Linked DNA regions of Homo sapiens: regions 1, 3, 4, 5 and 6 are each linked to region 2. Evidence: promoter capture Hi-C in human tissues and cell types (Jung and others, 2019). All regions are on one chromosome and are shown on one strand. Each heading gives the region's core, a stretch centred on a gene start or on the middle of the fragment in contact. The rest is flanking DNA. Distances are from core to core; before and after follow the strand shown. Region 1 holds the start of DHRS4L2 (dehydrogenase/reductase 4 like 2). Region 2 holds the start of PABPN1 (poly(A) binding protein nuclear 1). Region 3 holds the start of REC8 (REC8 meiotic recombination protein). Region 4 overlaps NRL (neural retina leucine zipper). Region 5 holds the start of TSSK4 (testis specific serine kinase 4). Region 6 holds the start of PSME2 (proteasome activator subunit 2).

Region 1 (4,602 bases), core at 1,329-3,828, 670 kb before region 2:
TAAGATTTTGAATCCAGATTCCCTTGCATTTCCAGTTTCTGGTCTTCCCAGAGGCTAGGTAAGGCTGGTTGACTGGGGCAGCCCAGAACACTGGGGGGACTAGATCGATGGGGCTGCACAGAGGTGGCACAGTTGTGCCAGAGGCAGCAGGGACAGAAGGGCTGGCAAGGGAGGGCCAGGGTATTCGGAGGGGCTTCAGGCGGACCACGTGGCTACTTTTTTTCCATGGCCAGACTTTGGCGGTATGTGAGGTCTGAGGACAGGGGCACTGGAGGCAAAGGACGAGACACCAGTGCATGTTTCCAGGCAGCCAGGGCCTCAGAAACTCCGGCACCAACACTCACCCGTCGGTGGAGGCCGTTACCAGGGCCACCTTATTTGTGAGCGGGTCCCGGCGGGTCATCCTGGAGCTGGCCATCCGCACCGACTTCCGTGCCCAGGCACAGAGGCCTAGCAGCCTGGCCATCTGCATGGATCAGACCAGCAAGTCTGGGTTCCACTCCTTCCAGCGGAGGTGACAGAGTAGGGCGAAGGGGCAGGACGAAGGGCGGGCCGCTTCCCTGCCTGCCCCCTTCCCGCCCTCGGCCAGCTGGGAGTCGTCTGTGGCGGTTGGCGCCTCCCGCCGCCCGCCAGTCGCCCCGCCCCGCAGCCAGCTACCTTCCGCCTGACTGGGGCTTGCCTTCCCGGGCTGGTGAGTGATCAAAGCGCTCTCCGTTCAAGTTGCCTGTAGGGCTCGCCCCTCCCCTGGCCCCCGCAGGAACCCGCAGACTTTGGCTGCTGCCCTTCTGCATCTGCTTGTCCACGTTTTCTTCTTGGGGAAGTGGGGGTTTTGAGTTGGTTGCTTTTGCTTCTTCAGAATTCCTTCTCCAAGAAAGTCTGGGTCTATGTATGTGACAGCCCACAGGAGGGCAAATGTTTTGAGACTGCCCATGGAGGTGAGGCCTGTGGTCCCCATGGAGTCCACCAGGTGAGGCTGGAGCAGCCTGGGAGAGAGACGTGATAGGCAGTAGCTGCGCCAGGCCTGGCACTGCCCTTCACTCTGCCCAAGGTCTCTTCCATCTTCACGGGCCCTTGGAGGGCAGACTACGGTCATTGGCAAAACAGGATCTCATATCCCTCGCCAAAGGGACTTCCTCCTTTACAGGGGCTAAGTGGTAGCGAGGAGGCTGGACAGTCCCTCAAGCAGTGGTGGAAATGCAAAGAACTCGGGGCACTCAAGTTCTCCCTAACCACTCTGTCCCCAGGTCTTAGCCTCCATCCTAGTTCAATAAATATTTGTTGAATGCAAAATCTCTTTATGAACTGTAAGCTACTAAGCACATAGTAGTTACTGCCACCATGTAGTGATTATTATTGGTGCCCTGGGCCAGACTCTTCATCTGTAAATTACTGAGGGTATGGATGATGAATAAAGTCCTTGCCAGCTATAAATTCTGTGTCCAAGACTTCAGTCTCCACTTCTGCCAAGTGGGCTGAAATGATCTCCCTCCTGGGTTTCCGGGAGAATGAATAAATATGGATGGCTTATGGTACAGTGTAGAAAGGCCGCAACAGACCCAAAGGTAAGTATCTGAATTAGTTTAACCCACTGGCCTCCAAAGCCAGACTGAGAAGCAGTGCTGGTTCATGGCAGCGTTTTCACTAGTTCAAAGCAAAATGAGAAAAGGAAACAATTACAGTGAGTTTCATAAAGCTAAGCTTATTTAACAGTCCTTTATTGTGGAGTATACCTTTCCTTCTTTTTGTGTGTGTGTGTGTTAGTGTTTTGTTTCAGAAAAGATGATGAAAGCAGATGGGTAGGTTTAGAGATGTGTTATTGGTGAAATCACCAGTTTGGCAGCCTTATGCCAGTCCCTACAATTAGAGGGGAAAGAATCCTGGTTTGTGAAATCCAGTTCTAGGCATGACTTTTGAATAGAATTCATGTTTGCTCAAGATTCATTTAGTATATGTGCAGGTCAGCTGAGCAGCTGAAAAAGGATTTGGACATTCAGCTGGGCGTGGTGGCTCACCCTGTAATCCCAGCACTTTGGGAGGCCGAGGCGGGCGGATCACGGGGTCAGGAGATCAAGTCCATCCTGGCTAACACGGTGAAACTCGTCCCTACTAAAAATACAAAAAATTAGCCGGGCGTGGTGGTACTTGCCTGTAGTCCCAGCTACTCGGGAGGCTGAGGCAGGGGAATGGCATGAACACGGGATGCGGAGCTTGCAGTGAGCCAAGATCACGCCACTGCACTCCAACCTGAGCGACAGATGGAGACTCTGTCTCAACAAAAAGAAAAAAAACAAGGATTTCAACATTCAAAAGGGGGTGTATGGCGAGCAAGTAATAGAACAGGCCTGCACTGGATTTCTAGTGTTTTCCTCAGCCAAGAAGTTACAGCTGCAGCACTCTGCTTTGCTACTCAGCACATCCCGATGAGACAGGAGAGCTGCAGTATAATTTTCCCCATGTCCAGGCAAAGCTGACTCTGACTGGTGCTCCTCAGTCTGAGCCTCATGAATTATTGACAGAGGCTGGAAGCGCCACACTCCTTGTGCTCTTGCACTGTTTGGAGCTCATGCACTGTGGGAACCCTTCCCAGGGCTCTCCATCTGTGTGGGGCTGGGGGGAGGGTACACAGGAGGACTGCTGCGGGGGTTCTCAGGGCTTGGTTCAAAGGGACAAGCCTCCAGGGGGGTATTTGATCTCTCTTCCTCTTCTCTTCAGAGGTAGACGGGCCCACTGAGGGGCTGAGGGTTCCAGGAAAGTGAGGAAGACCACACTTCAAAGAGCAAAGGATTCTGGGAAAAGAGAATTGTGGCTTGGGAGCTTGGTGAACAACACATGGCCCTTCCTTGTGTGGGCAGGGTTGCTATTTGGCCTCCAGCACTATTTCTTTTTCTTTCTTTCTTTCTTTTTTTTTTTTTATTATACTTTAAGTTCTAGGGTGCACGTGTACAACGTGCAGGTTTTTTACATATGTACACATGTGCCATGTTGGTGTGCTGCACCCGTTAACTCATCATTTACATTCGGTATTCCTCCTAATGCTATCCCTTCCCCATGCCTGCACCCCACGACAGGCCCCAGTGTGTGATGTTCCCCACCCTGTGTCCAAGTGTTCTCATTGTTCAATTCCCACCTATGAGTGAGAACATGCAGTGTTCTCACAGGGGGCCTGTGAGCAGAAAAGGATAGAAGGAAGTCAAGAAGTATGGGAATCTCTAGCGCTACTCCTCATCAAGCTGGCTTATTGGAGATAAGAACAGGAAATCTTGGGGTGGGCATGGTGGCTCATGCCTGTAATCCCAGCACTTTAGGAGGCTGAGGTGGGCAGATCACTTGAGGTCAGGAGTTTGAGACCAGCTGGCTGAGATGATGAAACCTCGTCTCTACTGAAAATAAAAAAATGAGCCGGGTGTGGTCTGGAGTTTGAGACAAGCCTGGCTAACATGGTGAAATCCTGTCTTTACTAAAAATACAAAAATTAGCTGGGCATGGTCAAGAGTTCAAGACCAGCCTGACCAACATGGTGAAACCCTGTCTCTACTAAAAATACATGCCTGGTGGCATGTGCCTGTAATCCCAGCTACTCAGGAGGCTGAGGCAGGAGAATTGCTTGAACCTGGGAGGCAGAGGTTGCAGTGAGCTGAGATCATGCCACTGCACTCCAGCCTGGGCAACAGAAGGAGCGACTCCATCTCAAAAAAATAAAAAAAGAAGAGGAACAAGAAACCTTTCAGGGAAATACATACATATGTGGGAGTATCTCTCTGAAATGGGAACTGTAATAGGCAATGGGATTGTTCTTGTATGGAGGTGGTAACATCTGCCTATCTTGAGGGACAAATGCCTCCATGATTGAGGGCTCTACTCTCATCCTTTTCAAGGGCTGCCTGCGGTCCAGAAGAGAATTCATCTGGGATGGATTTTAAGTCTTGCATTTTGCAATAGCTGTCCCAGATTCACTGTTGAGTCATGCATCACTGACACAAGTCAGGATTAGGCTATGTGGAAGGGCTGGTGTGGGATTAGGACAACTGCCAAGCAGAGAAATAATAGTAAGAGTGTTAACAGCATTTATTGAGCACTTCCTTAGTAAGTGCTGGCAAGTGTTAAGTGCTTTTTAGAAATTTTATTGAATATTTTTAATCTGGTGAAATGGGTGTTTTAATGTAGGGAGCCAAAGGCCTGAGGGTCGTGACCAACTCAGCATTCCACTGAAGGCTATATGATCAAACAGCCAACTGTTTATCATGATTGCAAAATGTGGGCAAACTCGCTTCTGCACCTGCCACCAGGAGGTTTGCTGAGGGCAATTACTCCCTGGTGCTGTGCTCCTTGAGGTTATCTACTGGAACCTCTGGAGACTACTGTTCAAAGAATGCAGTCATACAAGCCTACACTAAGTCAAGCAGCTTACTGACAACCACCCCTTTCTCCCTATCTCCTTTACTCAGTAAATACGAAGGGGTATAGAAGCTCAGGGCCCTTGTTCCCTAGAAGAAATGAGCCCCCTGACCCCTTCTTCCATATGTACTCATTTGTCTTTATTACCATGTTAATCTTCTTTTGTTCAGTCCACCAAGGACTGTGGCATTTTAAATTCTTTTTTTT
Region 2 (4,362 bases), core at 1,698-4,197:
TTCCTGAAGACCACGGGGAGGGGTGGGGGGAGGGAGGTTCCTCAGACCAGAGAGGAGGAAGCATACGGGGCTCACGGGAGGCGGGGGAAAGAGGAGCAGCCCATCTATCCTGACCTGTAGACGCGACCCCGGGGCCTGCTGTTAAAACCACTGTAGAATCGAGAGCGGGAGCTGTTGTAGTTGGTGGTCCGGGCGCGGTAGCGGGCTCGTGGAAAACCCCGGTCTGTTGTGCTGATGCCTGGTCTGTTGGTTCGTTTTGGGATCACCTGAGTCAGAGATGAACAAATGATAGCCTTAAAGGCAACCTGGAGAGTTTATACACAACTAGAACAGCAATGGACATAGGCTTACCTTGATTTGCCTTCCTCTAAATAGGGACTCATCTAAGGCCAAGGAAGTCCTCACTGACTCTTTGTCTGAGAACTCTATATACGCAAACCTGAAAAGAATTGTCATTGTATCTCTCTGAGGTTACAAATACCTCACAGGTCAAATTCAACCTGCAGGCATGCTTCGTTTTGGGCTACAATGCAGTTATATTTTTTATTTGTCAAAATTCTTCTAAATGGAAAATTTCAATCATTCGAAATCATTTAAATTTTAAAATTTCCAGCTACTCTTTGAAATTTGTAAAAATAAGACACACAGGGCCTGAATTTCCATATGGCCATAATAGGCCAAGTAGAAGCTGCCCCTCCCCTTCTAGTTCGTAATCCCACCCACATCTAGCCTTCATTTTTGTTATCTGGCCTCTGAAGACATTTAGGTGCAACTCCTGATATATCAACATTAATGCCATGATCTTAAATGACACAGATCACCTGTGTTAACACCAAATAACTTACTGCTCAATATAAAACATAATTTATCTATTTGTACACTGTAATTTAAATTATCTCAACTTACTCCCCTTTACTTACCCTTTGGGATGGCCACTAAATTTGTCACACAGTATGGTAACACGGTTGACTGAACCACAGCCATGAAAGTGAGCTTCCAGCTCTTCTGCTGTTGCACCATAGTCCACCTGATGAGAGGAGAAAAATTTCACAGGCACCAGGCAAATTCCTGTCTCAAAAGGAACCCTCCCGAGCCTTTGGTCTGGGCCATCATACACCAAAGCACATGAAATCTGGTAATTTGAGGAATTAATCTCTTTTCCTTCCAAACCCAGAGCCTTTGCTGATTACTGATCATTCCATTACCTTTAACCTCCTTCCCACACTCCCTCCACACCCAAAACCACATCTATCCCGGAGATGTTCCTTTCAGGACTATTAAATAATTCCCCAAAAGAAGAACTTGCCCCCAACCCCAGTCAGAGCCCCAGTACGTACATTGCCAACATAGATGGAACGGGCATCAGCCTCCATCTTCTCCTCAATGGACATGATCACCGGGCCAGCTATCAGGAAAAAATAATTTTTTACAAAAACCACACACTTGTTTTCTACTTGACCAATATGTTGCACTTCCACCACCAGCACTATCCCATAAGCTCAGTGAAGGCAAAGATTTTGGTCTGTGCTGTTCCCTGCTGTACCCACAACCGAGAATAGTGCCTAGTGCATAGCAGGTACTCACTAAATATTCAATAAATTGAAAGAATTAATACACACTTAAAACAGTATAGGAATCCCTCCTGCCTCCAAATCAAATCCCTAATGAATGGCTTTGGTTGAAATGCTTTTAAGAGTGAGCAAAATTAAGTGGGCTGAGACTCCACATTTCTAGATTAAAGGGGAAACCCCTTGCAGCTTGCTTTCTCTTAGAATCCTAAAGCGTCTCCAATTGGAGGAAAAACTATTAGATTTGAAGGTCAAATGCGAGCACGCAACCTCTACAAAGAAAGATAGACGTAGACTAAGAACAAAGAGCAACACAATTATAACAGGCACAAAGGGAGGCACAAGGCTACCACCACCAAAATATACGTTCTGCCTCACAAAGGTCAGAGGAACACACAACGGACTATGACCGCGGCACAGTCATAATAGCTCAGACAAGCAGCTCCAGGGTGCCGAGTATCTAACCCCACATTCCCCATCCTCCCCACAACCCTTCCAACCCGAGAACCCGGGCTCCGCGTGCAACCGCCAGTTACTCACCATTGCCTGGAGGTGGACTCATATTCATCTGCTTCTCTACCTCGTTCTGTAGCTCCTTTAGCTTCTCAGCTTCTTCCTCCATCTCCCTGACTCGAGCTTTGATAGCTTCCAGCTCCTAATATAAGTGGGGAGGGTATGGAGGACAGCTTAAGAGGAACCAACGCAGGGGCTGTGCCCTGCTCTCGGCCAGAGCGCGGCCTCAGCCATGCTCGGCCATTTCCCTCGCCCCATGCGAGGGTCGTGATAAAAGAAAAGCTACCCTCTCTAGAACAACACTAGGCAACCGTGACGCCCGAATCAAGCCAGTCGGGCCCCTTGTAGTGATCGCTGACCCATCCCCGGCCCGACCCGGCCCCAGCCACGTTATTCCCCGCCCAACCCCACCCCCCGCCTGCCACCCGCTCGCCCGAGCTCTGGGCCTCCAGTGACCCGGCCGGCCAGCCGCCGGCCTGCTCGCTCGCCCTCCTTCCCTCACCGGGTCCTCAATGGCGCCGTCCCCCGGGTCACCCTCGACCAGTCCCGGCTCCTCCTCCTCCTCTTGGCTGCCGGGGGCTCCCGAACCAGGCCCAGGGCCCGGAGCTCCCGGGGGGGCGCGGGGCCGGGGCGGCTCCTCTTCGGGCTCGGGCTCCGGCTCGGGCTCCAGCAGCAGCTCCTCAGGCTCCAGTTCCTCAGACTCCAGGCCGTTCCCGTAGTCCCCTGCGCCCCCCGGGGCCCCCTCCCCGGCCTCCCCACCGGCCCCGGGCACAAGATGGCGCCGCCGCCCCGGCCCGGAGCCCCGACCGCCCGCAGCCCCCGCTGCTGCTGCCGCCGCCGCCGCCGCCGCCATCGCCGCTCAGACTGGGGCCCGCCGCCCGGCGATTGGAGAGCTGCGCCGGCCACGCCGAGGACTCATTAGTCAAGCTGCCTGCCCGTCACCATGAGCTAGTACTCCATTGGGGAATATTACTTGGCAATCAAATAAGGCCCCACCTCTAAGGCGGGGCACTGCGCCAAATTCTCAAATCCCGGTAGGGGAAATCTGCCTGTCAATCAACACGCGTCCCACCTCCTATCGAGTCCTTAGGTAATAATACCGCCACGCTGTGACGATATTCCTGCTTCTCCCCGGCCTACGGGCGGGCCCGCGAAGTATGGGACGCTCCGTGATTGGCCCTAGCTAGGCGACTGGAAAGGACCAATCTTCCGATCGCCTCACCGCAGTGGCCCAGTCTCAGATGCCGATTGGCTTGCGAGAGTCGAAGGGGTGACACTCGTTTCGTGACAGGTGAACCTTGCCCCCGAAAGGACTGCCGGGCTTCAAACTTGGGAAACCCGAGGTCACATGACTAGCCAGTCCTAGGGGGCCGCCATCTTGATACTACTGCTTGCCAGCTAGTGAGCTGTTGGCCGGGTGAGGCCCAAAACAGAGCAGCAGTTTCAGGAAACTTGTATCTCGACCAGGAAGCACCAGTAGATGGGATGTTGCTGAAAATGGAGGTTGTGAATGAAGCATTCCAGGAGGGAGCTTACTTTCCCCATCCAGGTTATTGGCACCATCATCCACTAGCTCTCCCGCACCAGAAAGCAGGGAGGATTCCTCAGTCCAGAGCTACTAGTCACAAGTCCTGTCTGTCCCGCCCTCTTGCGTAGGCCTTCTGCTCCCCAGTTCCATTTTCTTTTTCCTGGACAGCTTCCAATGTCACCCCTCCAATCTGCACCGCTAACAGACTGGCCCCCCTTTGCTGGCGAGGTAAAGTCTCAAAACCGTAAATCACGGCCTTCGATACGCCAGCATGTGGTTACTTTGTGGATGTTGTTTCCTTCCACTCTTCTCGTTCCTTTGGGTGTACCTGCACCCAGTCTGTGCCTCTAACATGTAGTCCCCCTTCAATCAAACCACTGCAAACCCCAGCTTCCCCTCATTTCCCAGGACAAGTGGGCCTATCTCCACGGCGCGCTTAATTGTTTTACTGTTTCCTAACTAGGTTGTGAGCGCCTGCAGATGAGGGGCCGGTTCCTATTTATATTCGCATCTCCACGGCCTGGCAATATGCCTACCACATAATGTCCTGTTAGATGTTTGTTGATTGAACAGGCATTGATTGGGGATTTGGGTGCCACCCTTCATTTAAGCCCTCAAGCCCCCAAGATCCCAGAGGAATTTCTCCTGGCAGGTTCCCACTACACCCCTGCACCCCAAGTACCAATGAGACCTAGCCCTGGAAGGCAGGACTGCCATATTTTGGTAGCAGTCCTACACATTTATTAAAAAGAA
Region 3 (4,744 bases), core at 867-3,366, 850 kb before region 2:
CCTGGCCGATAAGGCGAAACCCTAAAAAAATTGGGCCGGGCTCTGTGGCTCATGTCTGTAATCCCAGCACTTCAGGAGGAGGAGACAGGCAGATCATGAGGTCAGGGGTTCGAAACCAGCCTGGCCAGCATGGTGAAACCCTGTCTCAACTAAAAATACAAAATCAGTTGGGCATGGTGGCAAATGCCTGTAGTCCCAGCTACTCGGGAGGCTGAGGCAGGAGAATTGCTTGAACCGGGGAGGCAGAGGTTGCAGTAAGCTGAGATCGTGCCACTGCACTCCAGCCTGGGCCACAGAGCAAGATCCTGTCTCAAAAATAATAATAATAATAGTAATAAAATAAAAAAAGAAATAAATGGGGCATGGAGAGCCCCAAATGCTAGTAATCTGTTTGCAGCAGGAGCCACTGTTCAAATGGGGAACCAAGGAAGGGGGTGACATTAAGCTGTAGGAGTATTGGGAATAGATGGAGGAGGACAGGGGTAAGAAAGCCCAGTGCAGAGAGATGAGAGCCTGGATTAGGGCCTTGGCAGTGAAAACAGTGTGGAGACAAGTGGGGACAAGAGCTGCCTCCAGTGGGGAAACCGTCTGATCAGATTGGCCCTGAGTAGGTAAGTACAGGGGGCTTCGCCTGGATGGGTCCACCTTGGCAGTCCCCCTGCACCATCTCCTGTGGGAGAGAGCTGTGGTAAGCTTCCTTCCCCAACCCCAATGTCAGAGTGACACAGGGACAGCACTCCCCTTCTGCATTGCCAATTCACGAGTCTTGGGGAATGAGCCCTACCTGAGGGATATCGAAAGGACTAGGAAGTCTGGGATCCACAGACATCATCCCAAAAAAGGGATCTGGAGCATCTTCTAGGGTCTCCATCATGGCCAGGTGGTTAGGAAGCAGCAGGCTGGGTCTGGGAGAGAATGTAGGCCGTGAAGGACTGAGGCTGAGCCAGGCTGAGGCCAAGCTAGCAGGTGTTCCATCAAAGGCCCAGGGCACACTCACAGCTCAGTCTCCATATCTATTCGGATCTGCAGCTGGGCACGGTGGAGGCGCTCCAAGATGTGCTGGATGTCCTCTGTGGGCAGGGAGGACGAGGTAGACAGCCAGCTTAGCAGACAGCTGCTCAGCCCGCCCCACCTTTGAGGGTTCCCAGCCTTACCCACGAGGTACTGGCATTGTTGAGAATAGACGCGGATCACACCGATCTGAAGTTGGGCTGAGAGATAGAGGGAGAAGCGGGGCCGCGGCAGGCCGGGCTGCGGGGGTTGCACTCGTACCAGCACGTAATTGAGGATTTCCTCGCTGGGGAACAATGCGCCCTGATTACCGCTGCGTCCAGGAGTGGGCCCACAGTCTTGGCCACCCCATCCCCTAACTCACCCCCCGCACCAGGCCCTCCTTCCCTTTTCTGGGCCTTACCAGGTTTTCACCACATTCACCCTCAGGTATTCGCGCTTCACCAACCGGCTGCCGCGAGTCGCCGCCAGCCTGAAGTGGGTGGGGAAGGTGGGAGAATGGGGATGGAGGGGGAGCTGTCAGGCTGGGATCCCGGGCAGCGTCCGCCATCGCGCGCCAACGGGCCCCGCCCTTACCAGATGGTGGCAAAGCAGCCGGTGTGGCGCTGAAGCACGTTGGGATAGTAGAACATTGTCCCTCTGGTCTTTCACCCTCGATTCCACCAGATCCCCGTTCGGATCTGAGTCGGAATTCTTTAGGGCACAGAATTCCCAACACCTTGGAGAGAAGTCAGGATTTGGACTTCTCTGGTGGCAAGGTGGGTGCACCTAGAAAGCCAAGTTAATGAGGCAACGAACAATGGGCAGATACACAATTACCAGGATAACTGAGACGCAGGAGATGGGCGCCCCTCTCTGTGGACCCTCAGTGGATCCGCACGCCACGTGATGCGTCAAACTTGAGACTTCTGGGTTGGGTTCCAGGTTGGAGATGCAGAGCTCCAAGGGGACGTCCGGGCCGGAATCCAGAGCAGGTCCCGAGGGAGCACGGTGTCCTCCACAGCAGGCCTCGGTCCTCGAGCGCTGGGAGCGATGTCAGGCCCCTGGGCCTTGCACTGGCTTGGGCGGCCGCGGTGTGGCCCCGGGCCGCCTACTGCAGGACTAGATCGCACCGCGGGAAGCGAGCGCTTCGGGGCACCGCACCTCGCTCCTCATTAGATGGCGGCTTTTGCCCTGACAGCCAATGGGGAACGGGGGTCGGGTCGGGAACGCCAAGTATCCTGGCAACAGGGTCTCCCGAGGCAGCCAGCAAACCAATCATAAGGATTTTGCGCGCCGCTGGGGTCCATTGTGAGGTGTTCCGACCAATGGGCTCCGGTTCTCGCCTCTAGTAACAGGCGCCCCTTCCTTGACCAATGAGCGCATCCCCGTCGCTCCCCCGCCGCTCCCCCGCCGCAAGCCTGGCAACAAGGGCGCCTCAATTGGTAGGGGAGGTCGGGTCACCTCGGGGGCAACTGTACTGGGCCTCTTCCGGGTGCCAAGATGTACCTTGCACGGCGCCTGACCTGAGGTTAGACCCCGCCCTTCCCCCAATCCACAAACTCCGACTTTGTTTCCAACTAGGGCGTGTCGTGTGCTGCAGAGGAAGAAAGATGTGAGATGAGGCCGGGCGCAGTGGCTCACGCCTGTAATCCTAGCACTTTGGGAGGCCGAGGCGGGCGGATCATGAGGTTAGGAGTTCGAGTCCAGCCTGACCAATATGGTGAAACCCCGTCTCTATTAAAAATGCAAAAGTTAGCTGGGCGTGGTGGCACGCGCCTGTAATCCCAGCTACTCAGGAGGCTGAGGCAGGAGAATGCTTGAACCTGGGAGGCGGAGGTTGCAGTGAGCCGAGATCATGCAGCTCCACTCCAACCTGGGCAAGGGAGCAAGACTCCGTCTCAAAAAAAAAAAAAAAAAAAAAGGCTGTGAGATGATGGCCTTGGAGCCACCACAGGTCAATGAGGAAGAAGTCCATTTTTTTTTTTTTTGATGGCCTTGGAGCCACCACAGGTCAATGAGGAAGAAGTCCATTTTTTTTTTTTTTTTTTGAGATGGAGGCTCTCACTGTTGCCCAGGCTGGAATGCAGTGGCGCTATCTCGGCAATCTCGGCTCACTGCATCCTCTGCCCCCCATCCCCTCAGGTTCAAGCGATTCTCGTGTCTTGGCCTCCTGAGTAGCTGGGATTACAGGCGCCCTCCATCACACCCAACTAATTTTTGCATTTTTAGAAGAGACGGGATTTCACTATGTTGGCCAGGCTGGTTTCTTTTTTTTTTGAGATGGAGTTTCACTCTGTCACCCAGGCTGGAGTGCAGTGGCGCAGTCTCAGCTCATTGCAGCCTCCGCCTCCCCGGTGCAGGGGATTCTCCTGCCTCAGGCTCCCGAGTAGCTGGGATTACAGGCGCCCACCACCACACCTGGCTAAATTTTGTATTTTTTAGTAGAGACAGGGGTTTCACCATGTTGGCCAGGCTGGTCTCGAACTCCTGACCTCAGGTGATCCGCCCGCCTTGGCCTCCCAAAGTGCTGGGATTACAGGCGTGAGCCACTGCCCCCAGCTGAAGAAGTCAATCTTACACGAAACTCCGAAAGGACTTACTGGGGTCACTTCCTAAATCTGAACAACTTAGGTTATGGGCACGCCACGTGTGGTCCTTTCCCAGCTGTCAGTGTTCTCCCGGCTGAAATAGACTTTAGCATTTTTGGATGCAGCACAACTTCCTAGCCTGGAAAAGCCATATTCTCAACAATTATTGTGTAAATTTAAGAGGTACAGTTGTAATAATAACCCTTGTCCCTATGCCTCCTACCTTTGCACAGCCATTTCTTTGGCCTAGAATGTCCTTCTCTGCCTTGACTCCAGAGCATGCTTCTTCCTGAGACTTATATCTTACTGCAGCTGAGCTGACCCTATCTTCTTACAGTCCCCTTCAATTTGAGAGTTTTTTTTTTTTTTTTTTTTTTTTTTTTCTGAGATGGAATTTTGCTTGTCGCCCAGGCTGGAGTGCAATGGACCATCTTGGCTCAGTGCAACCTCCGCCTCCTGGGTTCAAGCAATTCTCCTACCTAAGCCTCCTGAGTAGCTGGGACTACAGGCATGTGCCACTATGCCTGGCTAATTTTTTTGTATTTTTAGTAGAGACAGGGTTTCAACCATGTTGGCCAGGCTGGTCTCAAACTCCTGACCTCAGGTGACACCCGCCTCGGCCTCTCAAATTACATGCCTATAGTCACAGCTACTCAGAAGGCTGAGACAGGAGGATCGATTGAGCCGAAGGTCGAGGCTGCAGTGAGCCATGATTGCACTGCTGTGCTCCAGCATGGGCGATTCTGTCAAAAAAAAAAAAAAAAAGAAAGAAAGAAAAAAAGAAATACATGAAGTGGCCGTAAGTGCTATGAAGAAAATGAGGCAGCATAGGAGGATAGAATAATGACGGCTGCTATTTAGGGAGGGTACTCAGGGAAGCCTTGCCCCCTCTCTTAAGAGATAAAATTTGAAGAATGTGGGTAAGTCATGTGCCTACCTGAAGGAAGAGTAATTTAGACAAAAGAACCAGCAAATGCAAAGACCCTGAGGTAGAAATGTGTTTGGTGGGTTCAAGGAGCCTGGAGCAAAGTGACAGGGGAAGAATGGCAAGGGGCGAGAGAGAGAGAGAGAGGAGGGTAGGGTCGCATCACAGGACCTCAGAGGTCCTTATGGGGATTTGGGCTTTTACCCTGGGTGATTTGGGACCCACTGGAAGGTTCTGA
Region 4 (4,612 bases), core at 1-2,500, 760 kb before region 2:
CCAGGCCTGGAGGAGCTGTACTGGCTGGCTACCCTGCAGCAGCAGCTGGGGGCTGGGGAGGCATTGGGGCTGAGTCCTGAAGAGGCCATGGAGCTGCTGCAGGGTCAGGGCCCAGTCCCTGTTGATGGGCCCCATGGCTACTACCCAGGGAGCCCAGAGGAGACAGGAGCCCAGCACGTCCAGGTGAGTGGTCAGCAAGCTGGCCTGAGGGGAGGCAGGGCAAGGAAGGAGGACTGCCCAAGAGAGGAAGGGGAGCTCCCAGAGGGGGTTATGGACTGGGACAGGGGACAGAGGGCAGGAGAAGGGGAGAAGGTCCCTTGAAAGCAATCAGATCGAGAAAACTACATTCTGCTTCTCCCCCTTTTCTTAAAATGGAGAGAAATGAGTAGGCTGAACCAGGAGGAGCAGGGAGAAGATAAGATTAGCAGAGAATCCAAAGGGAAGAATTGAGCTGGGGAGTGGGCGACTCCGGGGGGTAAACAGATACATGGTGTGTGGAAACCAGGGAAAGGGTTATGTGTGGAGTGGAGCTGGGTTAAGACTGGTTTAGATTGGCCTTTTCAAGACTTCGTGCTTCCCAGCCCCCAACCTTCTCAGGAAGGATTGGGACTCATCCTATTAATTACAGACACAGATGGGGGTGTTGCGGGCATTAGGATGTAATCCAAATCCTGTGAGGGTCACCGGGTTGCAGGCTTCAGGACAGGGAAACGCAGCGCGTTGGAGGGTTGGGGGCTGTCTGGGTGCGGGTCCACTGGACACACCCGGGCCTGGAGCTGGATGCCGGGGATCCCAGAGACGAGCCCGGGGTTTAGGTGCGCGACGGGCTCGCCTGACCGTGGCCGGCCCTGCACCGTGGGGCGCCCGCCTGACTGGAGCAACGGTCAGCTGGGGGGCCCGGGGAGCGTCGGGGCCTGGGGCGGGCTCTGGACCGAAACAGACTGCGTGGAAGGGCGAGCCTTCCGGTGAAGGTGGGAGCCGGGGCGGGGCTGTCCCGGGGCGGAGCCAGGTAGCGTCGGGCCCTCAGGGCAGAGCCGGGTGCGACCTGGCGCTGACCCGGTTTCTGCATTCTCCCTCCGCAGCTGGCAGAGCGGTTTTCCGACGCGGCGCTGGTCTCGATGTCTGTGCGGGAGCTAAACCGGCAGCTGCGGGGCTGCGGGCGCGACGAGGCGCTGCGGCTGAAGCAGAGGCGCCGCACGCTGAAGAACCGCGGCTACGCGCAGGCCTGTCGCTCCAAGCGGCTGCAGCAGCGGCGCGGGCTGGAGGCCGAGCGCGCCCGCCTGGCCGCCCAGCTGGACGCGCTGCGGGCCGAGGTGGCCCGCCTGGCCCGGGAGCGCGATCTCTACAAGGCTCGCTGTGACCGGCTAACCTCGAGCGGCCCCGGGTCCGGGGACCCCTCCCACCTCTTCCTCTGAGCCGTTCAGAGCACCTTGTGGTGTAGTGGGGGCTGGGTGGGGTGGCTCCGCCCAGGAGGCGGCTGCACGGTTCTCTGCATCGTTACCAGAGCGCCTTCTGGTCCTAGCCACGCCCTGTATGACCGCGCAAATATCCCCAAAGCTTTTGGGTCCTCAAGTCATGCCCGAATTTAGATGCTGGTCATTTTCTGGAGAGGGGTCCCCTCCCCTTACGAACACAGAAACCCAGCCCACATGACTAGCACGCTGAGCTCTGCAGGGACCAGTGCCAGGCACTGGGGGGTGGAAGTGTGGTGACACAGTGAATGGGAGGTGGAGGAGGGTTGCAGCTCCCACCTCAGTTTAGTTTTTAATTCAGGGTTTTCAACCTGTAACACATTAAAGCTGTAATTAGCAATGAGGCTGTATTTTCATTCTGAAGCTTGTAACCTCCCCATTTTAGCACTACAGAATTTTCAAGATTTCAATATCCAACAACTAGATAGATTAGGACCTCTATCCGAGATGCTTTTTCCCTGCCCAACCCTGTGGCCTTCAGGGCTCAGAGCAGCAAAGGCCTGAAGAGTGAGCTCTGGGGGTTGTTGGTGTGGGTTGGGAGAGAGCTGTGTGCAGAAGTCTGGAAACCTGGGTCCTAGTCCCAGCTCTTCCATGGGATCCCCCTGTCACCCTGAGCAAATCAGTTGCTTCCTGGACTTGTGTTACTTCATCTAATTCTCATGTGGATTGGACGACTTCTGCTCCCTTTCCAGTTCTGGCATCTCCCCAGTATGGAAGTCCCGGTGGTCTCCCCAAGAAGTCCCCAAGACAATCTCGCCAAAGGCACCTCCTATCCTGCTGCAGTTTCCCAGCTGCAGCCTAGGCAGGGGATGCACAGCCCAGGCGAGGAAGCCTGGCTTCTCTGTGAGCACATACGTGGGTCCTCGGCAGCTCCCTCCAGGCTGTCTGGGCCTCCAGACCTGCACAGGGTGCTCCTGCCACCTCCCACCTCTCTGAGGGCTGAGGTGAGACTTCTCCTGGGATGACAATTTGCTGAGAGAGTGCAGCTTTTGTGAATTAAACTTGAAGTCCAGGCAGAATTCTAATGCAATAAGCTAAATGTTCTTGCAATTTAAGAAGTGTTCATTCTTTATCCCTGCTTCAGGCTACTGTTTGTGTGTCTGTGTGTGGGAGAGGGAGAGAGAGGGAGAGAGAGAGAGAGCAAGAAAAAGGGAAGTCCCCACCTGGAGCTGGGTGGCACATCTGTTATGGAGAGCCAATGGAAATGGGGTGGAGGGGCAGGCATTGGAACAGATGGATCCTCCCCCTCTCACCACCACCACCACCAAACTCAGAAGCCTCAGTGGCCCAGCTCGGCCTGTCAGTGGCTATCCAGGTCTCACAGTTTCCATGGTAACCCAGTCCTCCAGTTCAGCAGGCTAAGGGGAGGGCAGATGGGGCCTCTGGGCAGAGCACAGGCGTTGTGCTGGGAGCAGCCGCCTCACGAGTTACTGTCATCTGTCCTCTACCGGACATAATAAATGGGAGAAGCTTTCGGGCATGGGGGAAGAGGCTCCCATATGTCCCTCTTCCTTTCTACCCCCTCTCTCCACCCCCTCCCCAGCTGTCTCTTCTCTTCCCATCACAGTTCTTGCTCCCTCTTTCCCCTCCTCTATCCCAGCTCATCCCTCCTCCGCTTAGGAGCCTGCAATGGGAGTCCTCTCCTCCATCGCTCTCAGAATTTCTCTCGTCTCCTCTCCCTTCCCCACCATTGGCCACTGGCCATCCTCTCTGGCTCTGGATTCTCTCTCTGAGGGGCTCACAGAACCTTTAGCTTCTCTTTCTTCATCCCCTTCCACACTCATTGTTGAAGGGAGAGGATGGGGCAGGGAGGGTCCTTCCGGGAGCCCAGCTCTTTTTCTCTCACTCTAAATTTCACCTGTGTCTATCCTTGCCTGCCCTGGAGCTGTAATTCAGACCCACTACTTTTCTTGTTCACTTTTCTCACCTGCATGGCACACAAAGACAGACAGAACCATCCATAGACACCTGAGCACACAACTAGGCCACATATACAGTACCATACCTGGGTCTCAAAATGATACTCCTGGGTTACCTGAGTATACTTAAAAAAACAAAGTTGCACACTGTGGTGATTAAGAGTAGTGCTTTAGGTGGGGCGCAGTGGTTCCTGCCTGTAATCCCAACACTTTGGGAGGCCAAGGAGGAAGTTTGAGACCAGCCTGGGCAACATAGCGAGAACCCTGTCACTACAAAAAAATAAAATAAAATAAATTCAGATGTAATGGCATGCACCTGGAGTCCCACCTACCCAGGAGGCTAAGGTGGAAGGATAACTTGAGCCCAGGAGTTCGGGGATGCAGTGAGCCATAATCGTGCCACTGCATTCCAGCCTGGGTGGCAGAGTGAGACCCTGTTTCAAGTTGCAGTTCTACCAGTTTTTTGACCATGGGTGGGTTAAAATCAAGCCTCACTTGATTGTCAGAAAAATGGTGAAAATAATGGTAACCACCTACTGAGAATAAATGCATTTAAATAAGCACTTAGCATAAAGTTGACACATGCTACGTAATGATATTTGCTGTTGTTGCTGATGTGATTGTTAAGTGTGTGAATCTGTGTGTTCATGCACTGCACATCCCTGAGTCCATGAGTGTGACCCATTAAGGCCATGAACAGACACACACATTGACACACCCGGGAAACCAGACTGTATAGGCCTTAGATGCTCCACTATGTTCCCAATTCACTAGCAGACCTGCTGCCCTCCTTCAGTATCCCCCAGCACCTGCTCTTGGCCCGCCCCACAGCTGTGTGGGGGCTGGGGTTCAGCTCCTGGGGGACTCAGCAGGGCCTCTCTGGAGACAGCTATAAGAAAGCTTCAGCCTGCCCTCCTGACAGCCCGTAATTATCCTCCTATCTCCTGTAATTATTCTCCATGGTGCCTAGACCCCCTGGGGTTGGGAGGTGAGGGAGGGGGCTCCTCAGATCCCACTGGCACATAGCTGGGGTAAGACTGCAGAGACAGCAGCCTGCCTGGGGAGCTCTGTCTCAGATTTTGAAAGGTGCTGGTCCTCATTTCTTATGGTGTGTGTGGGGGTGCTGCAGGCTGCCCAGTGGGCATCTGAGGCATGATGGTTAGAGGCTGAGGTGCTAGGAGCAGTTCTCTTTATTAATGGCTAGAAAGTCAGGATCACCCA
Region 5 (4,633 bases), core at 305-2,804, 880 kb before region 2:
TACAACCCACAGGCTGGTTAGAAGGCACCATCTTGGCAAAGCCAAAGTCTGATATCTTCACATTCTCCCACTTGTCCAGCAACAGGTTCTCCAACTTTAAGTCCCTACCAGCAGCAGAAAGGCTGGGCATCAGGCTGGGGAGAGGGCTTAGTTTTAGACTGGGAGCTGAAGGGCCAGGGGTCAGAGGGTAAAGATGAGGACAGAGGAAGTGGGAGGTAGAAACCATTATGAGGGCACAAGGTAGAGAGGAAGGAAAGCCATGGAGTTGTGAGCAGAGCCCAAAGTAGGGAGAGAGACAGAGGATGGTATCTGAGGACCACCGGGAGCTCACCATTGTATTTCATAAAATGCTTTGCATACAGTGAGTACTTTATCAGTATCCTTGACCATATGATTAAAATAGAGTGCATGAATAGGCTAGATATTGAGGAGGGAGTTCGAAAGAGGAAAAAAGGACAGGAAATGGGAGATGTGCATAAAACCCCCTTGAGGGCAAAGGCCCCAGTCTGGGTGGCAGCGCCCTCACCGGTGCACGATGCTCTTGCTGTGCAGGTAGGCAATGCCCAGGGTCAGCTGGGAGAACCACTTGCCAGCAAGGGGCTCAGAGCAGGCCCCGTAGCGCTGGATCCATTCAAGGACATCACCACCCTGAGCCAGTTCCAGAATGATGTATACTCGAGATGTGCTCTCAATGGCCCGATAGAAGTTGATGAGGTACTTGTGCCGCAAGACTTTCATTACCTGACCCCAGAAGAAGGACCCATCAAACCTGGGAAGGGAGAACCCTGACTGCACTCCCAGCCGTCTCCTACCCTCAGCTACTGACTTAGGACTTTGCAATAGGATCAGCCCCTCAACCCCAGAGAACTGGTGGCCTGTGGGCAAATGCTATGTTTTGTGCCTTTACTTTTTGGGGACTGAAGGTGAGTGGGTGGATGGGAAAGAGGTTTAACTTACATAAAGTTTCCTAGCTGCTTAGTGAGACATTTCAGTTCTGGTTTAGGGGTTTCTGGCCCCACCCCTCCTGGCCATACCCCTTCTGAGAAACCTCAAGCAGCTTAGTACCAAGCTCCAGTTCCCTCTTCCAGCCCCCTTTCCAACCTGTATTTCACGGGGCAGGAACTTGTTAAGATAGTCATCAGAGGCCTTCTTCTTTGAGATGATCTTGACTGCCACCATAACCTTCTGCTTTGTGTAGAAAGCCTCATATACCGACCCATAGGAGCCATGGCCAATGGCCTTGCCCACCTCATAACCATATTCATCCATGAGGGAATGGTAGGCTGTGGTGGTTGGTGCTGCCTCTAAGACATCTCCCTTCCCCATGGTGTTGGGCTTGCTGAGAGCAGGGAGCTTTACTACTTGGAAGCCTCCTATCCAAAGGCCAACACCTTGAGCTGCTGAAGGCTAGGGTATCAAAGTGAAGTAGGTCCCCAAATGCTTGCCTATATAGTCACACGAGTCTGGGATGCTGGACTCAGCCCTCCACTAGGAACTTGGAGGGGGAAAGAAAGAGAAGCAGTTCTTTTTGTCTCCACTGGCTGTTGTTACTTTCTCCTTTTGGTTACGGAACTCCTCAAGGTCCCATGTTCCGAATACATCACAATCCACCTCCTATCCATCGTTGGCCACAAAACTTGAGAATGAAGTGCGGCCGGGCGCGGTGGCTCACGCCTGTAATCCCAGCACTTTGGGAGGCCGAGGCGGGCGGATCACGAGGTCAGGAGATCGAGACCATCCCGGCTAAAACGGTGAAACCCCGTCTCTACTAAAAATACAAAAAATTAGCCGGGCGTAGTGGCGGGCGCCTGTAGTCCCAGCTACTTGGGAGGCTGAGGCAGGAGAATGGCGTGAACCTGGGAGGCAGAGCTTGCAGTGAGCCGAGATTGCGCCACTGCACTCCAGCCTGGGCGACAGAGCGAGACTCCGTCTCAAAAAAAAAAAAAAAAAAAAAGAGAATGAAGTGCAGTTGGAAACGTACTCATTCCCAGAGGCACCTTCCACAGTCTGGTGAAACTCCTAAAGATCAGACCTTTCATTGATATATGAGTACCTACTAAGTACCAGACACTGTGCTGAATACTTGGATAAAATGTCACCCAAATGTCATGCCAGACCCTTCCTCCTTCCTCAATCCCTACATACAATCTTTCATCAAATCCTGTCTCTGCTATCTCCTACTTATCTCTTTAATGATACACTCAAGGCTTTCCGAGCCCATTGCAGCCCCCTTAGTTCAATAAGGCCAATAGAGACACTATGATCCTAAAGCTTATAATGCAGCATGAGAAATACGAGTGTGAAAGTATTACCATTGTAAGGTATTGAACATGTTCTAGGAAAATCTAACCTTGAAATGCATCCTTATCTTCTATGAGCCAGAACTCTCTAGTTTTCCTCCACATCCTTCTGGTCACTCCTCAGCCTTCACTGAAGTTATATCTTTCTCTATCCATCCCTTAATCATATCCCAAGTGTTACATCACAAGCTTTATTTTCTCAAACCTTCACATCCTCCCTTAATCTTGTCCATACCCATGGTGTCAATACTACATTTATGCTGACTGCTCCTAATTTCATCTCCATCCCATATATCTGGAGTTTAGATAGAGCAGCCAGTATTACGTGGCCATGTCTGCCCCAGGCATGGAACTTACCATATCCATCTCAAACTTAACCATATCAATAATTGAACTTATTTTCTTCTCTCAGACTTTTCTGTGAGTTGTACACTAATCACCCTTAATTTAGACACTCATATGTCATCCCAGACCCTCCTGCCTCAGTCCCTACATTCAATCTATCACGAAATCCTATCTCTTATACCTCCTGATTCTCTCTTTGATAATATTCTCATGGTTTTCTGAGCCCACTGCTAATCCCTTAGTTCACGCCTCCATCATCGAACAGATGGCCCCCGCCAGCCTTCTGCTCCACTCCAGTCTGTCCATCCCAAGTCCAAAGCATAAATCTGATTTTATTTCCATTTGAAACAATTCAGTGTCTCCCCATTCTCTTTAGGATCAAGTCCATCCAAATTCTTTCACACAGCTTTAAGTCTGATCCTGCTTACCTCCCCAATTTTATTTTTTAACACACACGTAATGATCCACAACTGCTTTTCTGTATTTGTGGCAAACTCCAAATCTTCCTTGAGAACTTGGCATAGGACCTTTTTTCTCTTTTTTTTTTTTTGAGATGGAGTTTCGCTCTTGTTGCCCAGGCTGGAGTGCAATGGCACGATCTTGGCTCACTACAACCTCCAACTCCTGGGTTCAAGCGATTCTCCTGCCTCACCCTCCCTAGTAGCTAGGATTACAGACATGCACCACCATGCCTAGCTATTTTGTATGTTTAGTAGAGACAGGGTTTCTCCATGTTGGTCAGGCAGGTCTTGAACTCCCGACCTCAGGTGATCTGCCCACCTTGGCCTCCCAAAGTGCTGGGATTATAGGCATGAGCCACCGCGCCCCGTCTGTTTTTGTTTTGAGATGGAGTTTCGCTCTTGTTGCCCAGGCTGGAGTGCAATGGCACAATCTCGGCTCACCGCAACCTCCACCTCCCGGGTTCAAGCCATTCTCCCGCCTCAGCCTCCCGAGTAGCTGGGATTACAGGCATGCACCACCACGCCTGGCTAATTTTGTATTTTTTAGTAGAGACGGGGTTTCTCCATGTTGGTCAGGCTGGTCTCGAACTCCCAACCTCAGGTGATCTGCCTGCCTCAGCCTCCCAAAGTGCTGGGATTATAGCCGTGAGCCACCGCGCCCAGTGGAGCTGTTTTAAAGAAGGCTTAACTGACTGCTCAAGCTTCAGTTAGATATTCCTTCTTCCTGGGTGCTCCCACAGGCCCAATACTTTGTCTGTCACAGCACCTAACATAGTGTCTGTAATTGCTTCTGTTGCTTGCATCTCCCACTAAGCTATATAGGGAGGTCAAATGATGAGAAGACAGATGAAGTGTGGAGAATAGAAAAGAGCTGGTTTAGAAAATGAGCAGCATTGAGGGCCCAACTGAGGTTGGAGAACAACTTGTCCATAGACACATATAGTGTTGTGATTCTTTTAGCATCTTGGTTATAGGTACTTGAATGTTGATGGATGATTTAGGGTTTTGCTTGGCAGCTGCAATGAAACAATGGGAGAGGGGCATCAAGAACATACGCAAGAATGTGGCTGAAATGGAATGCGGAATCTAAGCTGCATGGATAAGGAAGATTATCGGGGAACCTGCCCCGATAGTCACGTAGGTTCTTTTCTATTTTCCCTAAGCGTCGGCCGGTTTGAGAAATAAAAGGACAGAGTACAAAAGAGAGAAATTTTAAAGCTGGGCATCCGGGGGAGACATCACATGTCGGTAGATTCTGTAATGCCCCACAAGCCGCAAAACCAGCAAGTTTTTATTAGGGACTTTCAAAAGGGGAGGGAGTGTACGAATAGGGTGTGGGTCACAAAGATCACGTACTTCACAAGGTAATAGAATATCAAAGGCAAAGGGAGGCAGGGCGAGATCACAGGACCGGGGCAAAATTAAAATTGCTAATGAAGTTTCGGGCACCATTGTCATTGATAACATCTTATCAGGAGACAGGGTTTTGAGAGCAACCTGTCTGACCACAATTTATTAGGTGGGAAT
Region 6 (4,269 bases), core at 2-2,501, 830 kb before region 2:
TGCGGCGTCCAGCTGCAGGTAGCGGGCGGCTAGCGGCAGAGAGCTGGCTAGTAGCGGCCGGAGCTGCTCCAGGGAAAACGCCTGCCCGGAATCCCTCCTCAGGGCGCTCGCCAGCTCCTCGCGGGCCACCAGGAAGGCCCGCTCCTCTTCCTCCCCCGGCATCCTGAGGCAGGAGTCAGCCCCAGCCTCGCCGCCCGCCAGGACCCGGCGCGGGCAGCGCGCGGCCCGAGCGCCGCCCCTCCCGTCTGGTGCCCGGCTTTGAGGCCCACCCCGGCCCACGCAGCCGCCCCAGGTCACTCAGACCACGGTCACTCTCCAGCCCCCGGCCCAGCGCCAGGGTTAGCCGAGAACAGGAAGTACTAGGAGAGAGGGTGGGACTGCGACCCAATTTCGGAGGAACGGGCGGGGCTTAAGGTTAAGGTTGGAGCGGTGTCAGGAAACCAGGGGGCGCGGCCAAGAGGGAGGGCCAGGTCCCAACCAATGAGAAGGCAAATGGCTCCTGGCTCCTCCCTCAGAGCGCGCCAGCATCTTCCCTCAGTCAAGCGCTCTTCCCCGCCTTCCCCCAATCTGGTTCCACCCCTTCCGGATAGCCGCAGGCGCGGGGTTATCCTATTCAGCTCAAAACCTTTCTTTTTCTAGCTGGACCAGTCCGGTACGCTCCGGGCCTCACCGAGGAAGTCCCACCCTGCAGGGGAACCGACTCTGGCCGGCCCTAACCCCTCTCGAGCGAGTCCCGCCCCATCTCCGGTCTGTCCTGAAGGCAGAGGGAAGACCCTCACCCAACCCCTGCCCGCTCTCTTCTAAGAGCTGCTAGTCCTTCTCCACCCCAGGCGCTCCCTCTGGCTGCCCCTCCCACTCGCTCTGATCTCTCTCCGTCCGCTACTTGCGGTCGAGCCTTCTTGGGGGAGCCCCGCCACTGAATACCCCCTTTGCCATACTCCCACCTCTCTTACCCCAACCCTGGACTTCCAGTTGGCCCTAGCTATAAGCCCCGCCCCTCTCCGAGGGACAGCCCCCGCTCCAGTCTCCGCGGTCCCACTTACCCTAGCCCCTCCCTCGGGCAGCCCCTGGACTGTGACCCAGCCAGCACCGCCTCTCCTAGTGGCAACTGGCTGGGAATGGCTGAGGGGCTACCTACTGCTTGCGGCCTGCCAGCGGGAGGAGGGGGGCGGAAAGAAGAAAGGGGGCGGGGTTGAGGGGGGCGGGCCTGGACCTGGGGAGTGAAAGCGAAAGCCCGGGCGACTAGCCGGGAGACCAGAGATCTAGCGACTGAAGCAGCATGGCCAAGCCGTGTGGGGTGCGCCTGAGCGGGGAAGCCCGCAAACAGGTAATGGGGAATCGGAGGCCAGGAAGGGGTCATAGAACCCTCTTGGGTGGAGGCCAAGCTGGGTGGTTCAGGGGACCAAGCAGTGCCAGAGAACTCCCCCAATCTCGCTAGTGCCTTCACTTCTCGGGGATTCCCAGATTCCTGCCTTCTGACTGCAGTGAGCAGGAGCTTCCAGGGAAAGCTAGTTTGTGGTGAGAAAGGCCTGAGCCACAGTTCGAGGGCACCCTGTTGTGGGTGGAAGCTTTTGACAACCCAGACCCTTAACCAACATCCGGGTACTGCTCTCTGTGTAGGTGGAGGTCTTCAGACAGAATCTTTTCCAGGAGGTAAGTCTCTGGATTTGAGCGATTTGACCCAGAATCTTGGACCAATACTTGAGGATAACAGCCTCTCAGAATGACCCCCCCAAGTCACCCTAGACTTAACCCTACTTCCCTTACCAAGCCTTCACCCAAAGTAACCCCGGAATTATTGATAGCTACCTTTAATCTGACCTTTCTTATGACTCTCCCGACTTCTGGCACTTCTCCCGTCTTTTGATGTGGAGGAAAAAAACCATGGCTTCCAAAGCAGGAATATCACAGTCCTAACCTTCGTTCTGCCATTTACCAGCTTGGGCAAGTCCTTTCATTTTCAGGTCTTCAGTTTCCTCATTTGCAAGTCTTGGACCCAGTGATTTCCAAAGGCCCTTCCAGTTCCATTTGTCAGACATCTCATTGAGCATATTCTGTGATTCCCCTCCCTTGCAATGTAACCCACAGGCTGAGGAATTCCTCTACAGATTCTTGCCACAGAAAATCATATACCTGAATCAGCTCTTGCAAGTGAGTAGTGTGGGCCCCTTCTGCCCCATCCTATGTCCTCTATCCCCTTTGCCCACCCTCTCTAGCTAACAACTGGATTCAGCATGCAGAGAATAGTTTCAAATAGTGGATTAGGAACATTAGGATGGCGTGAGGCATGAGCCTAGGTTGGGAGGCAGAGTGCAAGTGGGATGTATGGAGGGAAGGCTGTGACCTAGGATGAAGGGAAGAGGTTGGGCAGCCCTTGACAGTGAGCTCTGTGCAGGAGGACTCCCTCAATGTGGCTGACTTGACTTCCCTCCGGGCCCCACTGGACATCCCCATCCCAGACCCTCCACCCAAGGATGATGAGGTGAGGCACTCAGGGTGCAGGACTTGGACTATAAACCCAATGGAGAAGATAGCCCTTCAACCTCTGTGACTTTTCTAAAGCTACTTTCCCCCCTTTTTGCCTTAGATGGAAACAGATAAGCAGGAGAAGAAAGAAGGTAAGAGAGATAAGAGGTGACTAGGGAAGGGGTGATGGCACACTGACTACTGGATGAGAAAGGGCCTGAATCCCCTCTTTCTCACAGTCCATAAGTGTGGATTTCTCCCTGGGAATGAGAAAGTCCTGTCCCTGCTTGCCCTGGTTAAGCCAGAAGTCTGGACTCTCAAAGAGAAATGCATTCTGGTAAGCCTGGGAAATGGGGGAAGCAGAAAGAGAAGACACACAAGGTGAGGCCCTGGACTCCTCCGTAGATACAAGTCCTTCATACAGAGACCTAGTCCTGAAAAAGAAAACTTCCTTCTGTGCCTTGGGCTTAGATCCCCTTTGTTCTCCTCGTTCTGTTAGACCTCTCTTATCACAACGGTACCCCCAAAATTAGAGACTGTGCAGTATCCACTCTGTAACCTCAGAACCTACTGCTGTATTGGGTTCATAGTAGAGGTGGTATGATATAGTGAGTGAATTGTTTTAAAAGATTGGACCCTAGAGAGAGACTGCTTAGGTTCAAATCGTGATTCTATCAGTTACCTAGCTGGTAGCCTTAAGTAAGTCACTTAGACATTCTGTGACTCAGTTTTTTCATCTGTTAAATGGGTACAATAAATACATATCTCTGAAGGTTGCTGTGATGATTACATGAAATAAATACATGGCACAGTACCTGGTATGTAATAAGTACCCAATTAAATATAACTTTTTTTAGGAAGTGACAGTAATAGGAAGAACTCAGTATGTTTGTTGAATGATTCTTACATGATACCTCTTAACACAGGTGATTACATGGATCCAACACCTGATCCCCAAGATTGAAGATGGAAATGATTTTGGGGTAGCAATCCAGGTAAGAAAAGGGTAACTGAAGATACTTAGAGTGGGGAGAGCCTCAGGGGGTGAGCTAGACATGAACCAGGAGGAGGAGGAAGATAGTGTATGAAATGGGGAGGACATGAAGTGTTGTCTTTGCCTCCCGTGTCACCACAGGAGAAGGTGCTGGAGAGGGTGAATGCCGTCAAGACCAAAGTGGAAGCTTTCCAGACAACCATTTCCAAGTGAGGGCAGCTGGAGGACCAGCATTGGGGGCAGTAGGAGCATTTCTTTGGGACCCCCAGAGCTGGGCAGCCCTATCAGGATGATGGGAGACTTTGGGAAGGGTCTGAGGGAGTACATCTCCCTGAACACTCATTCCTGTGGTATTCCCTTGCTTCTGGCAGGTACTTCTCAGAACGTGGGGATGCTGTGGCCAAGGCCTCCAAGGAGACTCATGTAGTGAGTGGATAGTCCACCAGCCTTTTAGCTGGGTGTGGGACGAGGAGGTGTGGAGGAAGAAGTCCTCCTTGTCTTGTTTGTGACTTTCCCAATGTGGAGAATATTAAGCTAAAAGCATTACCTAGAAAAACTGGTTTGGGCTTCAACAACCTTGACCCTTTTCTCTGCTCAGTCCTTTGGGATCCTATTTCTTGGTGCTAAGAAGGGGTTCATTCTCAAGTTAACCTATTTCCTATAAAAGGAAACCAGACTCATGTCCCAGCCTCCCATGGGACTGACTCAGCTTTGCCTCCCACATTGCAGATGGATTACCGGGCCTTGGTGCATGAGCGAGATGAGGCAGCCTATGGGGAGCTCAGGGCCATGGTGCTGGACCTGAGGGC

What was found. Contacts are between HindIII fragments. The study calls those that stand out against the background at their distance.
Region 1: a fragment that was not itself captured here is called in contact with the fragment with the promoter of PABPN1 in region 2 in 1 of the 25 tissues and cell types used here (stomach).
Region 3: the fragment with the promoter of REC8 here is called in contact with the fragment with the promoter of PABPN1 in region 2 in 1 of the 25 tissues and cell types used here (dorsolateral prefrontal cortex).
Region 4: a contact is called between a fragment that was not itself captured here and the fragment with the promoter of PABPN1 in region 2, in 1 of the 25 tissues and cell types used here (IMR-90 fibroblasts).
Region 5: the fragment with the promoter of TSSK4 here is called in contact with the fragment with the promoter of PABPN1 in region 2 in 1 of the 25 tissues and cell types used here (aorta).
Region 6: the fragment with the promoter of PSME2 here is called in contact with the fragment with the promoter of PABPN1 in region 2 in 1 of the 25 tissues and cell types used here (dorsolateral prefrontal cortex).

Annotation. Positions count from the first base shown.
Region 1 is chr14:23,984,818-23,989,419 of GRCh38, reverse strand. DHRS4L2 (dehydrogenase/reductase 4 like 2) reads right to left here and starts at 491. Exons shown (of 8, transcript NM_198083.4): 1 at 345-491. The coding sequence starts at 472. RefSeq lists a silencer at 476-725 and an enhancer at 896-955. The HindIII fragment of the contact is 5,367 bases long and covers 1-4,602 here.
Region 2 is chr14:23,320,042-23,324,403 of GRCh38, reverse strand. PABPN1 (poly(A) binding protein nuclear 1) reads right to left here and starts at 2,947. Exons shown (of 7, transcript NM_004643.4): 1 at 2,584-2,947; 2 at 2,109-2,223; 3 at 1,338-1,405; 4 at 921-1,027; 5 at 352-439; 6 at 115-266. The coding sequence starts at 2,934. BCL2L2-PABPN1 (BCL2L2-PABPN1 readthrough) reads right to left here. Exons shown (of 8, transcript NM_001387346.1): 4 at 2,109-2,223; 5 at 1,338-1,405; 6 at 921-1,027; 7 at 352-439; 8 at 1-266. The coding sequence ends at 105. RefSeq lists enhancers at 1,573-2,382, 2,383-3,194, 3,448-3,517, 3,206-3,856 and silencers at 2,488-2,557, 2,618-3,047. The HindIII fragment of the contact is 10,317 bases long and covers 1-4,362 here.
Region 3 is chr14:24,169,452-24,174,195 of GRCh38, reverse strand. REC8 (REC8 meiotic recombination protein) reads right to left here and starts at 2,116. Exons shown (of 19, transcript NM_001048205.2): 1 at 1,588-2,116; 2 at 1,415-1,483; 3 at 1,155-1,297; 4 at 998-1,070; 5 at 785-905. The coding sequence starts at 1,643. RefSeq lists enhancers at 1,886-2,135, 2,204-2,704 and a silencer at 2,306-2,355. The HindIII fragment of the contact is 13,606 bases long and covers 1-4,744 here.
Region 4 is chr14:24,078,039-24,082,650 of GRCh38, reverse strand. NRL (neural retina leucine zipper) reads left to right here. Exons shown (of 3, transcript NM_001354768.3): 2 at 1-183; 3 at 1,083-3,989. The coding sequence ends at 1,415. It overlaps CPNE6 (copine 6), which reads right to left. Exons shown (of 17, transcript NM_006032.4): 17 at 4,564-4,612. Among named protein-coding and RNA genes, the nearest start is that of CPNE6, 8.8 kb to the right of the region's middle. RefSeq lists enhancers at 1-399, 1,832-1,881 and silencers at 822-991, 1,202-1,521. The HindIII fragment of the contact is 4,734 bases long and covers 1-3,617 here.
Region 5 is chr14:24,202,617-24,207,249 of GRCh38, reverse strand. TSSK4 (testis specific serine kinase 4) reads right to left here and starts at 1,554. Exons shown (of 4, transcript NM_001184739.2): 1 at 1,102-1,554; 2 at 527-741; 3 at 1-134. The coding sequence starts at 1,326. RefSeq lists enhancers at 3,023-3,921, 3,922-4,633, 4,027-4,633. The HindIII fragment of the contact is 2,603 bases long and covers 546-3,148 here.
Region 6 is chr14:24,143,592-24,147,860 of GRCh38, reverse strand. PSME2 (proteasome activator subunit 2) reads left to right here and starts at 1,251. Exons shown (of 11, transcript NM_002818.3): 1 at 1,251-1,327; 2 at 1,621-1,653; 3 at 2,089-2,151; 4 at 2,396-2,482; 5 at 2,588-2,618; 6 at 2,706-2,803; 7 at 3,393-3,461; 8 at 3,602-3,669; 9 at 3,832-3,886; 10 at 4,190-4,269. The coding sequence starts at 1,280. It overlaps RNF31 (ring finger protein 31), which reads right to left and starts at 363. Exons shown (of 21, transcript NM_017999.5): 1 at 1-363. The coding sequence starts at 162. RefSeq lists silencers at 96-325, 356-445, 1,146-1,205 and enhancers at 287-581, 128-628, 766-835. The HindIII fragment of the contact is 10,846 bases long and covers 1-2,608 here.